2 separate regions of the Homo sapiens genome follow, and region 2 is linked to region 1. The links are contacts of gene promoters, found by promoter capture Hi-C in human tissues and cell types (Jung and others, 2019). All regions are on one chromosome and are shown on one strand. Each heading gives the region's core, a stretch centred on a gene start or on the middle of the fragment in contact. The rest is flanking DNA. Distances are from core to core; before and after follow the strand shown.

Region 1 (6,714 bases), core at 2,879-5,378:
CGGCTAAGTGCCTGGGTTTGTCCTAATCGAGCTGAACACTAGTTGCTGGGCTCCATGGTTCTCTTCCGTGACCCACGGCTTCTAATAGAGCTATAACACTCACTGCATGGCCCAAGGTTCCATTCCTTGGAATCCGTGAGGCCAAAAACCCCAGGTCAGAGAGCAAGAAGCTTGCCGCCGTCTTGCTTGGGAGTGGCCCACCACCATCTTGGGAGCTCTGGGAGCAAAGACCCACCAGTAGCACTATGGCCCAAGGTTTTGTTTCCTATATGGGATGGAAGCAAGAGACATTTGGGGTAAGGCATGAAGATCTGTTTAGCTTAAACATGATAAGGTGTGAGTTGTAACTAAATTTTCTAGAGCTTTCTTAATAAACCATGGGGGGAGGGGTTCCTGTATTTATTCAATCTCATTTGAACCTGCTTGTATTTTCAGTCTTTGCAGGTACATCTGCCATTCATTCATAGGCAGTGAAGTATAGTAGTTGAGTGGTGTGGTGCCAGAATCAGGCAGATCTAAGATGAAATTCCAACCCCACTGCATACTAGATGTGCCATTATGGTTAGTTTCTTGACTTGAGAGCCAGTTTTCTCATCTGTAAAATGGGTATAATAATAATTTTGAGGGGACTCAAATGAGACAATTTGTGTGATGTACTTAGCAATGGCTGGCATGCCTAAAGCCCTAAGTAAATGGTAACTATTTTTATTCATTCAATAAAAAAAAAGAAAAAGAAAAACACATGTATTGGGTATCTGCTGGGCTCGTGGCATGTTGTAGGTACAAAATGTATCAAGACATTGGCCCTGTCCATAAAGAATTTACAGTCAGGGTTGGTGGAGGCAGGGAAGCTAAACACTTCCGTAATTTCAAGGTAGAAATTAATAAAAGACAGAAAGATTATGGAAGGGACAAGTCTTTGAGAACAGTTGTCCTTGGGTTGGGTCTTGTAGGATGTGAAGAATGTGGACAGGTAGAGTTGAGTGGGGATTAAACAACTGACATTGTGGAGAAAAGAAATAAACCTTAAGAGAGGAATTAGACAGGAATGGTGAGGATATCTCAGCACCCAGCAAAGTTTGGCTTGTACCTAGGAAGTAAAATGGACAGAGGTGGGAAGCTAGACCAAAAAAATGAGGACATATCAGAAAGGGAGTGCACACTGGTTGGAAATACCATGCGAAAGCATCTGGCCTTGGTTGGATGGGCTATTGAAGACTTTTGGAGAATGGGAGGAAGTAAAATCCCATAGTTTGCTGTCTACTGTATGAAGTATTACCTTTCCTTCATTTATCCTATTTTTTTTTGTTTATTTATGCTCTCTCAGGTTTTTGGAGCATTCTTAGTACTGGACAGTCTGAACATTAGCATGATTTAATCATGATGTGCTGGCTGGGAGAGGGACTAGCCTTAACTCCAGTGAGGAGAAGAGGGAATGAAGCCCTAATAGGCCACATTAAATCTTCATTCCCTCTTCAAAGGACAGCTGTTCACTTCCTTTCCACCTTGCAAATATTGATAATACTAAAATGCTTGCCCAACTTTATCTGGAATTTGGCAAATGATCCACTCTTTCCTCTGGAGGGTGCCCCAATATTGAAACTTCAAATATCCATGTTTACATGACCTTCAGTTATTGACAAAGTTGTCTTCGTATTATTACTTTTACTATTATATATGATAATTGACCAATATAATGATATTGACCAGAATGATGGCTCTAGTTAGGAGGCCTAACAACATCCCAAATCCTTTTTCACTGACTTTATCGCAATTTCCTCTGCTTAAGAGATTTTGAAACAAAAGAGTGCCCCTGCTCTTGGGTGCATAAAACCCTGCAGGTGAAAATGATGAGAAAAATTACTGGGCAAGGTATTAGGCAGGCACTGATTGTATCCTATTTAGAGCTCTGCAATTAAAAAAGTATATATAATACTGAGACTGGGTGCAGTAGCTCATGCTTGTAATCCCAGAACTTTGGGAGTCTGAAGCGGGAGGATTGCTTGAGCCTAGGAGTTCAGTCAGCCTGGGCAACATGGCAAAACCTCACCTCTACAAAAAATTAGGCCAGGCGCAGTGGCTTACGTGTGTAATTCCAGCACTTTGGGAGGCCGAGGTGGGCGGATCACGAGGTCAAGAGATCAAGACCATCCTGGCCAACATGGTGAAACCCCGTCTCTACTAAAAATACAAAATCATCTGGGCATGGTGGCACGTGCCTGTAGTCACAGCTACTCGGGAGGCTGAGGCAGGAGAATCGCTTGAACCTGGGAGGCAGAGGTTGCAGTGAGCTGAGATCACACCACTGCACTCCAGCCTGGCGACAGAGCAAGACTCCGCCTCAAAAGAAACAAATAAACAAAAATTAGTCAGGCATGGTGGTGTGCACCCGTAGTTCCAGCTACTTGAGAGGCTGAGAGGTGGGAGGATGGCTTTGGCCTGGGAGGTTGAGGCTGCAGTGAGCCATGATTGTGCCACTGCACTCCAGCCTGGGTGACAGAGTGAGATCTTGTCCTAACATATACATGTATATATACACACACACTGGTTTTAGCTAAATTGATTATAACTCAGGGACCGTGAGCTTAGGATGGACAGAGGTGCATAACATTGATTACTTTTGTTCCAATATTGACTTTTTTCTATATGAGTGATTCATTTAAATTTGGAGGGTGGAATAAATTGATATTAGTTTCCAGTCTAACTGGAATATCTGCAGCCAGAGGACAAAGTACAAGGACTTATCAGAGAGGAGACAATGAAGCTCCATGCTCTGGAAAAAGGAAACAAGAGGCTGAGGGAATGAGATAGCTTCTAAGGAGGGAGCTTACAAAGGCCCCTCCTCCCCTGGCTCTTGCCCCGTGGGCCAGGCTAATTTGCATTTCAATGAGGACTTAATACTACTGAAGATTTTATGAAACGCCTAAGCTTCTCAAATGTTTGTTACTTTTGTTACCCTAGCTGAAATCTGCAATTACCAGTATTTTTAAAAAATCCTAAAATGAAGAGAAGAGGCCTGTGGGTGTTCAGTCAAGGAGGGAGGGGTCAAGTCTCAGTCCAGGAACTACTCTGTGCTGGGAGAAGCAGCCAGATACGGCACAGGTCGCGGTAGCCGAGAAAGAAAGCGAGAGAAAGGGTGAGCCGGGGAGTCGCTGGGCCAGACTGAAGTGTGCCTGTGTAGAATAACTGGCAGGAGAGCTGCATTTTCTGACCCCGGGAGGTAAAAGACGACGCCGTCCTTGGCACTGAGTGCGGTGACCACCAAGAGGAGCAAAAGTCATGAGTCTCCGACCCCCAGGCCCCCGGCTCAGCTGCCTCCACTCCACCCTACTCTTCTCAGCCCCAGCCCAGAAAGCAGGCAGCGAGGCAGGTCTTTGAACCGGACCAGGTTCCTTCCCCAAACACCCGGATCCAGAGAGGGGCAGGAATTCCCTAGTCATTTTCCCCTGCTCCTCCCCACATCATCCGCCCGAGGGGCGGCAGATCCAGCGGAAGCTGTCCGTGGTGCTGACTCCTGCCTTTGGCTTGGCCGGACCCGCTGCCCGCTGAGCGCGCTGCAGCCAAGCAGGGGGCTCGTGTGGCGGGGCCACGGGAGGGTGAGGGTCCTCAGGTCCGCGACCAGCTCCAGGCTCTGCTGTTAAATCCCAGCCCGAGCCCTCTAGCGTCTCTGCCCTCCGCAACCTGGCCGCTAGGCAGGATCCAGCCTTTAAGAACGGGTCAGTCGTGCCTCTCTCAAGCCCCCAGCTGCATTGCAATCTCCCACCGCTACTTCCTTCCCCGCTCCTTCCCTCCTAAGACTGCACCGGCTCCTCCCGATAGCCTGACGCTTCGCGCCTCTCCTCCGCCCTCCTCCACTGTGCGCTCCTCCGGACCCTGACCCTCCAGGGGCCGTGCAAGCTCCTGCAGTAGAGATTCGTCCTCTTCGCTGCTCTGGCCAGGTTTGCCGGCCCCTCCTCCCGTTTCGGATTCCATCCTCCCCACACTGTCCTCTTCACTAGTTCTCTAAGCACCGAGCATGGCAGAGCGCGCTCCACCCCTATTTTCCATACATGGGAGCTGGAGTGGGGGGCGGAGCTGAGGGGAGGCGCTCCCAGTCCCTCTAAGAAGCTGCTAGCCCACTGGGAAACATTTGGATCCGTTCAGCTCCCGCGGAGAAGCGAGACCGGATCACCGACGTGGGCAGAGGACTACCGAGGGCCAGCAGAAATTCTGCCCCTTCTTCCCGCGAGTGCTTTCCCGCTCTCCAAACCCCACTCCCAGGTAGGATCGCGCTCCTGAGTCTGCCTGCGTGGACTGCGAGGACCGTAAATAGAGGCGGAAGCGTTTAAATAAACCGTATGTTCTAACCGTGCTTAGGTTTATTTTACAGAGGTGAGAGGACAACACTTTTTGCTACTTTTGCTGTTGTTCTGTGGCCGGTTATTCCCAAGGGAGGACTCAGGCGATGGGGGAGGGGCGCGGCTGGTGTAGGAGGTCGGATGGAGTATGGCAAGGGAAGTGACGGACTTTGATTACCTTTGAACAGGTGGCCATGGCCTCATCGACCACTCGGGGCCCCAGGGTTTCTGACTTATTTTCTGGGCTGCCGCCGGCGGTCACAACTCCCGCCAACCAGAGCGCAGAGGCCTCGGCGGGCAACGGGTCGGTGGCTGGCGCGGACGCTCCAGCCGTCACGCCCTTCCAGAGCCTGCAGCTGGTGCATCAGCTGAAGGGGCTGATCGTGCTGCTCTACAGCGTCGTGGTGGTCGTGGGGCTGGTGGGCAACTGCCTGCTGGTGCTGGTGATCGCGCGGGTGCGCCGGCTGCACAACGTGACGAACTTCCTCATCGGCAACCTGGCCTTGTCCGACGTGCTCATGTGCACCGCCTGCGTGCCGCTCACGCTGGCCTATGCCTTCGAGCCACGCGGCTGGGTGTTCGGCGGCGGCCTGTGCCACCTGGTCTTCTTCCTGCAGCCGGTCACCGTCTATGTGTCGGTGTTCACGCTCACCACCATCGCAGTGGACCGCTACGTCGTGCTGGTGCACCCGCTGAGGCGGCGCATCTCGCTGCGCCTCAGCGCCTACGCTGTGCTGGCCATCTGGGCGCTGTCCGCGGTGCTGGCGCTGCCCGCCGCCGTGCACACCTATCACGTGGAGCTCAAGCCGCACGACGTGCGCCTCTGCGAGGAGTTCTGGGGCTCCCAGGAGCGCCAGCGCCAGCTCTACGCCTGGGGGCTGCTGCTGGTCACCTACCTGCTCCCTCTGCTGGTCATCCTCCTGTCTTACGTCCGGGTGTCAGTGAAGCTCCGCAACCGCGTGGTGCCGGGCTGCGTGACCCAGAGCCAGGCCGACTGGGACCGCGCTCGGCGCCGGCGCACCTTCTGCTTGCTGGTGGTGATCGTGGTGGTGTTCGCCGTCTGCTGGCTGCCGCTGCACGTCTTCAACCTGCTGCGGGACCTCGACCCCCACGCCATCGACCCTTACGCCTTTGGGCTGGTGCAGCTGCTCTGCCACTGGCTCGCCATGAGTTCGGCCTGCTACAACCCCTTCATCTACGCCTGGCTGCACGACAGCTTCCGCGAGGAGCTGCGCAAACTGTTGGTCGCTTGGCCCCGCAAGATAGCCCCCCATGGCCAGAATATGACCGTCAGCGTGGTCATCTGATGCCACTTAGCCAGGCCTTGGTCAAGGAGCTCCACTTCAACTGGCCTCCTAGGGCACCACTCGAGGTCAATCTGGTGCTTATTCTCAGCACCAGAGCTAGCTAAGCCAACATAGGGCAACATTTCCAGCCCAGCCCTCTTGTCCGGCTGTCTGTCTTGTCCTTGTGTGTTTGTAAAATGTTAAGCGGGCTTTGGTGAGAGTCTTGCTCTTTGCTTGGGGGAGGCCAAAGAGAGGGAAGAGGATTTCTTATTTCTTCTTTATGCCCTTGAAGGACAAACAAAACTTTTTCTCCACGTTCAGAAAAGTATTTCAGAACCACGATTGCCTTCCTGGCGTCCCCTCCTCCTGCTCGTTGGTGAAATGAACAATATGAATGGGATTTAAAAGGAATGCATTGGGCTTGGTAAAGATTTTCAGTTTGCCTTTAGAAAAAGGACCCAGCTGAGAGTACCATGATATTGCTTAGTCCATTTGAACCCTTGCATTCCTAGAATTTCAGGTAAATATGTATTAAAACTCTACATCTAGGATTTCAGCATTTCCTGAGTAAGACCTTTATATGCCAAAAGGGTTTCGTTTTAAAACCACTTGAGTTTATAGTACAAAAACACCTACAAGCTCCCTTTAGAAAGGTCTTGCTATTGTTTCTCCCCTTTCCTCCCCAACTACTATTTAAAAATGATGAGACGAATTAGTCAATGAAGAGATAGATAAATAAAGAGGAAAAGGTCCAATTCACTTAAGAGGTCATTCAATTGTACCTAAGGACAGACATCCTCTGTGTATGTGTGTTTGTGTATGTGTGTGTATGTGTGGGTACACATTCAGTGTTTGCCACAAAGTGGGCACTCAAATATTTGGTTTTCTGAATACTCAATGTAAACTGTGTAGCGTGGCATTCTCCTGCAGTCTCTAATTGCTCACTTGCAACAGATCAACAGCTGTCATCTGACTGCTCAGCACCTGCTCTGTAGTGATTCTTGGAACATGATCAACCCAGAAATCAAGGACCGGCAGAAGTTTACTTAAGGACAGAACAGAAGAATAAGCTACCACCCACATGATGTGTA
Region 2 (6,714 bases), core at 1,671-4,170, 190 kb before region 1:
TTTTCCTGTAGAGATGAGGTCTTTTTGTGTTGCCTAGGCTGGTCTCAAATTCCTGGCCTCAAAAGATCCACCTGCTTCAGCCTCCCAAATTGCTAGGATTTATAGATGTGAGGCACTGGACCCAGCCCATGATCTAGTTTTACCAAAATTGATCTTTACAAAATGAAAATGTTTTAATAGATTATTATAGATTGAAGATTAAAGATAATACTAATAGTATAAGTCCCAGAAAACCATAAGAAATTGGCAGAGCTTATGTGGCTAGTATCAGCTCTATATCAGCACATTATGAGGTAAAATGAAATCTGCCAAGAAGTCAGCCTCTTTGCCCCCCAAACTAAAATGATCAAGAGGGTCCCTTGAAAGATGGATTTATGTCCACTGTCATTCATGAGCTCACCCTTAGTGTGTATTGTGCCTTGCAATATTATTTATTAATAAAAAAATGCCATCAAAATTAACACTAAAATATTACATCTTTAACTCATCTTTAAAAAATTTTTAATGTAATGTATATATAATGTATACATAAATATGCATGTATTGGAGCTGCAAATGTCTTAAAAAATAGAGATTTCTATGGACTGAACTGTGTTCCAACAAATACATATGTTGAAGCCCTAATCCCCAGTGTGACTGTATTTGGACATGGGGCTTTTAGGAGGTAATTAAGGTTAAATAAGGTCATAAGGGTGGGGTCCTAATCAATTGAATTGGTGACCTTGTAAGAGAGGGATGAGAGAGATATTGTGCTCTCTCTCCCTGTGCATACATCCAGGAAGGACCATGTAAGAACATAGCAAGAAGGCAGCCATCTGCAGACCAGGAAGAGAGACCCCACCACAACCCAACCATACCAGCACCCTGATCTTGGGTTTCCATAACTATGAAAAAATAAACTTCTGTTGTTTAAGCTATTCTGTCTGTGTTATTTTGTGATGGCAGCCTGAACAGACTAATACAGGGATATATGATCAAAAACATTCGGAGACCACTGAGAAATGGGTCAGTGTAGTTGGTTGTGGCAGTAACAGCTCCCACTTGTTCCTGGTTCCCTCGTTCCATGCCCTTGGGTGGTCCCCTCCCACGGACTCTGGCCTTGTGACTTGCTTTGGACAATGTAAAAATAGCTAATGTGTCACAAGCAGAGGAAAGTGCTTGTGAGTTGGTGTTTGCCTTCTTTCTTACCGTGGGACCTTCTGGCACCTACTGAACAAGACCATTGTACCCTCCTTGTGTGTCCAGAATTGGCGGGTTCTTGGTCTCACTGACTTCAAGAATGAAGCCGCGGACCCTCACGGTGAGTGTTACAGCTCTTAAGGTGGCGCGTGTGGAGTCTCTCCCTTCTGATATTCAGATGTGTTCGGAGTTTCTTCCTTCTGGTGGGTTTGTGGTCTCGCTGGCTCAGGAGTGAAGCTGCAGACCTTCACGGTGAGTATTATAGCTCTTAAGGCAACGCGTCTGTAGTTCGTTCCTTCCGGGGGGCTCGTGGTCTCGCTGGGCTCAGGAGTGAAACTGCAAATCTTCGCGGTGAGTGTTACAGCTCAGAAAAGCAGCGTGGACCCAAAGAGTGAGCAGTAGCAAGATTTATTGCAAACAACAAAAGAACAAACCTTCCACAGTGCACAAGGGGACCCAAGCCCGTTGCCAATGCTAGCTCGGGCAGCCTGCTTTTATTCTCTTATCTGGCCCCACCCACATCCTGCTGATTGGTAGAGCCGAGTGGCCTGTTTTGTCAGGGCGCTGATTGGTGCGTTTACAATCCCTGAGGTAGATACAAAGGTTCTCCACGTCCCCATCAGATTAGTTAGATACAGAGTTTCGACACACAGGTTCTCCAGGGCCCCACCAGAGCAGCTAGATACTGAGTGTCGATTGGTGCATTCACAGACCTTGAGCTAAACACAGGGTGCTGATTGGTGTATTTACAATCCCTGACCTAGACATAAAGGTTCTCCAAGGCCCCACCAGAGCAGCTAGATACGGAGTGTCGATTGGTGCCCTCACAAACCTTGAGCTAAACACAGGGTGATGATTGGTGTATTTACAATCCCTGAACTAGATATAAAGACTCTCCACGTCCCCACCAGACTCAGGAGTCCAGCTGGCTTCACCTAGTGCATCCCGCACCGGGGCTGCAGGTGGAGCTGCCTGCCAGTCCTGTGCCCTGCGCTCGCATTCCTCAGCCCTTGGGTGGTCGATGGGACTGGACGTCGTGGAGTAGGGGGTGGTGCTCGTCGGGGAGGCTCAGGCCGCACAGGAGCCCATGGAGTGGGTGGGAGGCTCAGGCATGGCGGGCTGCATGTCCCGAGCCCTGCCCCGCGGGAAGGCAGCTAAGGCCCAGCGAGAAATCGAGCGCAGCGCCGGTGGGCCGGCACTGCTGGGGGACTCAGTAGACCCTCCGCAGCCACTGGCCCGGGTGCTAAGTCCCCCATTGCCCGGGGCCAGCAGGGCTGGCTGGCTGCTCCGAGTGCGGGGCCCACCAAGCCCACGCCCACCTGGAACTCCAGCTGGCCCGCAAGCGCTGCACGCAGCCCCGGTTCCCGCTCGTGCCTCTCCCTCCACACCTCCCTGCAAGCTGAGGGAGTGGGCTCCAGCCTTGGCCAGCCCAGAAAGGGGCTTCCACAGTGCAGAGGGGGCGCTGAAGGGCTCCTCAAATGCCACCAAAGTGGGAGCCCAGGCAGGGGAGGTGCCGAGAGCAAGCGAGGGCTCTGAGGACTGCCAGCATGCTGTCACCTCTCACTTGTAGGTTAAGAAACCATGGGGAAGGTGGCTGCAAACATCCCAACTGAGGCCCAGGACCCATGTATCATCCTGGACCACCCACCTCTGGCTAACCTGGTCCAGAACACAAGAATTGCTCGGATCACCCATAGAGTCATGAGAAAGCAGAAACATCTGTTGCTTGAAGCCACTGAGTTTCTGGGTGGTTATGGAGAAAAAGCCAAGTCATACAGTGGGGCAGGTACATCACAAACTCTTGCCCGGTTTAAATGCCTTGTAGCCTAACAAATGGATGTTCATCAGATGTGTGACATTTCCAGAGCCTAGAATAGGGCCTAGCACATATTAGATGCTCAAAAACATTTATTGAGTAAATGAAGAAGATAAATCATAGCAAACACACACTGAACAGTTCCTAAATATGTTTACATGGATTCTTGCACTTAATCCTTTGCCCAAAACATGAGGTAGGTACTATGATTTTCATGCCCATTTTAAGATGGGGCAACCAAAGCTTAGGGAAGTTAAGTCCCTTGCCCGAGATTAGACCACTGGAAACAGCTGGATAGGGACTGGGTCTCTCCCATCCTGCCTGTCTGCCTGCATAGTAGCCACTTAGGTGCTGTGCAATACCACCAATTCTAGACTGCCTGTCCCTCTATATGGAATGAAATTCTGAGAATAAAAGCCAGAAACAGAATTTTCAGAGTCCCTCTGTTGCTTAAGTTGTCCTTAGTTCATCGGGCCCCTCCAGGCATACAGTGGTGGCTGGGGTCTGATCATTTAGCTCTGAGAACCAGGTTTCTCATCATGGTGGCAGCTGTGTGCCTAGTGGGCCCTGCTTGATTGGGAAGAGGTCACCAATGGAGGTCATTAGGAGTAAAAGACGCAGACCAGGAGCTGGCTGCTTCCAGAGCCAGTACCTAGGAGGAGAGCCAGGCTGTGCTCCAGCTTGGGCTCTATGAGAACTAATTGATGCCAGTTGCATTCCCTGGGACCCAGGTGGTGCCCATTATGCAAAGGAACAAAGCCAGCTCAGTAGAGAGTCTGTGCTAGGCAGGGCTTCTGCAGCCAATAGCTTTCCCTGGTGGCATTCTGTGTACGGCCTTCTGTCTGTCCATCCTGACCTGCATCCATCTTCAGATGGACAGAAGCAGCACAGATTGGATTGGCTGCGTAGGGTCTACGCACAGGGTGCATGCTGGGCCACTTGGGCTTTGTTTACGGCAGGCCCCAGTCTGAAGGGAGCAGGTCTGGCAGCTTCTAGAAGAGGACTGTCATGTAACTGGCTAGTGTGCTCAGAGCTTTACATAAGGTTATTCTTTCAGTCCTTGAAGGGAATGAGCTCCCAGTTCCAAGTGTTCCCATGCTGTTATTCTCCATTACAGTATACTATTTGTTGTGATGATTTCGTGTATTTATTTGCTTTCTTTCTCATCTCTTCCCCATTGGGCTTCAAGCTCCATGAAGGTCAAAGTCTTACCTGTCTTTTTCTCCATATCTTCAGCATAATATCATGCAAATAGCAGATGTATAATAAAAATTTGTTTGGTGTTTTTTGAGATGGAGTCTCATTTTGTCACCCAGGCTTGAGTGCAGTGGTACAATCTCGGCTCACTGCAAACTCCACCTCCCAGTTTCAAGTGATTCTCCCGCCTCAGCTCCCAGAGTAGCTGGGATTACAGGCGCGTGCCACCAAGCCCCGCTAATTTTTGTATTTTTAGTAGAGATAGGGTTTCACCATGTTGGCCAGGCTGGACTCGAACTCCTGACCTCAAGTGATCTGCCTGCCTCGGTCTCCCAAAGTGCTGGGATTATAGGCTTGAGCCACCATGCCTGGACTTGTTTGATAAATTCTTGAAGAAAGATATTTTAATTTTTATTTAATAAAGCAAAACTAAAGTTTAGGAATGTTGGGTAACTTACTCATGGTTACACAGCAGTAAATCTTAGAAACTAAATTCTAACTTGGGTTCAACTGACTTTGAAACCTGTGAGGTTTTTCTAAAGCATGAGGTAGGTACCACCTGTGGTAGGAGAGATAATTTAAGTCATGCACAAGCACATTTAAAAAATATTAAATTATAATGCAAAAGTCATTTCCTTTCCATTTATCTTTCAGTTCTGATTATTTCAAGAAAATAATTTTTCCAAAAAGGAGCAGGCCTCAAGTTCAAGAGCAAGGCTAGCAGATGAGGTTTGGCTGTGAGAGGCAGAAAGCTTGAAAAGAGTGGTATTACAAGATAAAGTATGGTTCTTTCTCGTGTAAATGAACCAGAGGCAGGCAGCCTAGGGTTGGAAAAGCAGTTCTATGATTGTCAGAAACTCCTTCTACTACACTGCTCTGGCACCCATATTAGAGTCTCTACTTTATAGCCCAAGATAGTTGCTGCAGCTCCTGCCATCATGTCTACCTTGTAGCCATAAGGAAGAAGGCGAAATTCCTGCCTTCTTCTTTCAGAACCACTTCCTGGAAGTCATATGCAACAATTCAGTTTATAGTCCTTTAGCCACTAGGAGAATTGAAAAAAGAAGGAATGGAGGGAGGAGGAAGGAATGGAGGGAGGAGGAAACAATAATTATGTTTCTATCGCTGTATTAGGAGCCTGGCTTTCACAAGGCCCATGGGCTCGTTGTACTTGGCGGAGTCTCTAAGCTGGAAGCTTTGATCAGAAGATAAAGAAGTGCTTGGTTGTTGGACTGCCTGTACACTGGGACTTGCCCTGTGGTTCTGGGTCCACAAGACTGATGAAGAGAGGAAGTCACTGTACTGGGCCTTGTGGGAGAGGGGCAATTTCCTTTTCTCCCCAGGGTGTATATGTGGGAGGAGGGGCTGTTCCCCTCATTATGCCTCTAAGCCCAATGAAGGGGGAAGATTGCAAAAGAATCCCTATAGGGCTCAGGTGTACCCTGCGGAAGCAGAGCCTGGTACTCCATCCCGGTCAGATAATGCCCAGGCCCTGGACGTGCTGATCTCTGGATGCACCGATCTCTGGATGGGCCTCATTGAGCAGGGGAGAAGAGGGCAGAGAGCAGGCTGGGACAGGCACCTGTCCACCCATGTGTGGCCCTGAACATCCATATGTGTGAGTTTCCCAGGCGTCCAAGGTACGTGGTGGAAGGTGGCTGCCTCCAGGCAAAAGGACCCCCCAGCAGCAAGAGGTTGTGGGTGTAACTGCCAGTGAAGACAGCTCAGGTGTGTGGTGGAGTGGAGCCAGGTTGCTCATGTTAGGGAATCAGGCAATGGAAGGCCTGCCTTGGATCTAGGTGAACTCATGTCTGCATCCCGCAAGGCACCAGCCTCTGGAAGCTGCCCCCAGTAAGGGTTAGACCTGCAAGCAGCACCCACCAACCCTGAGAAGACTGCAATGTGACAGCTACACTAGGAGACTGCTGTCCTTTATCCTGAATTTCCAGCTCCCAGCTCCTACTGCTAAGAAGCTGGAGAAGAGAAGGGGAGGGTTGTCCCAGAGACAGACCAAACTTCCCTCCACCCCTAGGTCAGAGAGGAGGAAGACGGGAAGGCAGATTGCTTGACCTTGTGCAAAACCCTGTAGCTGCAAGCCCAACTGTGGTGGGGAGGGGGTCATCTTGGAGTCAGATAAGAGATTAGAGTTCTAAACCAGACGGGGCTGAGCGTCAATAAGGAAAGGGATCCGAAAGCTCTGAAATCTGCCCAAGATCTTGTGAAGTGATGGGAAAGCAAGGGTTAACAGAGACTGGTTCATTCTTTTATTTGCCAAATGTACTTGCCACATACTATGTGTTAGACACTGCCAGGGGCACAAGTCTCTGCCCTCATCGAACAGTGGGAGAGACAGATGATGAAAAATAAACACACACTCCAGGATCAGGGAGTGAAAAGTGCAATGAGGGACTAGGAAGGGCTTGGAGGGAGACAGCCACCTTCCCAGGAAGCGATACTGAACAAGGACTTGAGTGAGGGGGAATTCCTGTGACTGCTTGCGGAAAGACCCAACTGAGGTGGAT

What was found. Contacts are between HindIII fragments. The study calls those that stand out against the background at their distance.
Region 2: a contact is called between a fragment that was not itself captured here and the fragment with the promoter of PRLHR in region 1, in 2 of the 25 tissues and cell types used here (heart left ventricle and spleen).

The regions. Positions count from the first base shown.
Region 1 is chr10:118,593,062-118,599,775 of GRCh38, reverse strand. It overlaps PRLHR (prolactin releasing hormone receptor), which reads left to right and starts at 4,128. Exons shown (of 2, transcript NM_004248.3): 1 at 4,128-4,260; 2 at 4,526-6,714. The coding sequence starts at 4,532. The coding sequence ends at 5,644. RefSeq lists enhancers at 2,743-3,551, 3,552-4,360, 4,361-5,169. The HindIII fragment of the contact is 7,132 bases long and covers 1,550-6,714 here.
Region 2 is chr10:118,778,747-118,785,460 of GRCh38, reverse strand. LINC03036 (long intergenic non-protein coding RNA 3036) reads left to right here. Exons shown (of 4, transcript NR_186540.1): 4 at 1-917. Among named protein-coding and RNA genes, the nearest start is that of CACUL1, 27 kb to the right of the region's middle. The HindIII fragment of the contact is 7,267 bases long and covers 1-6,553 here.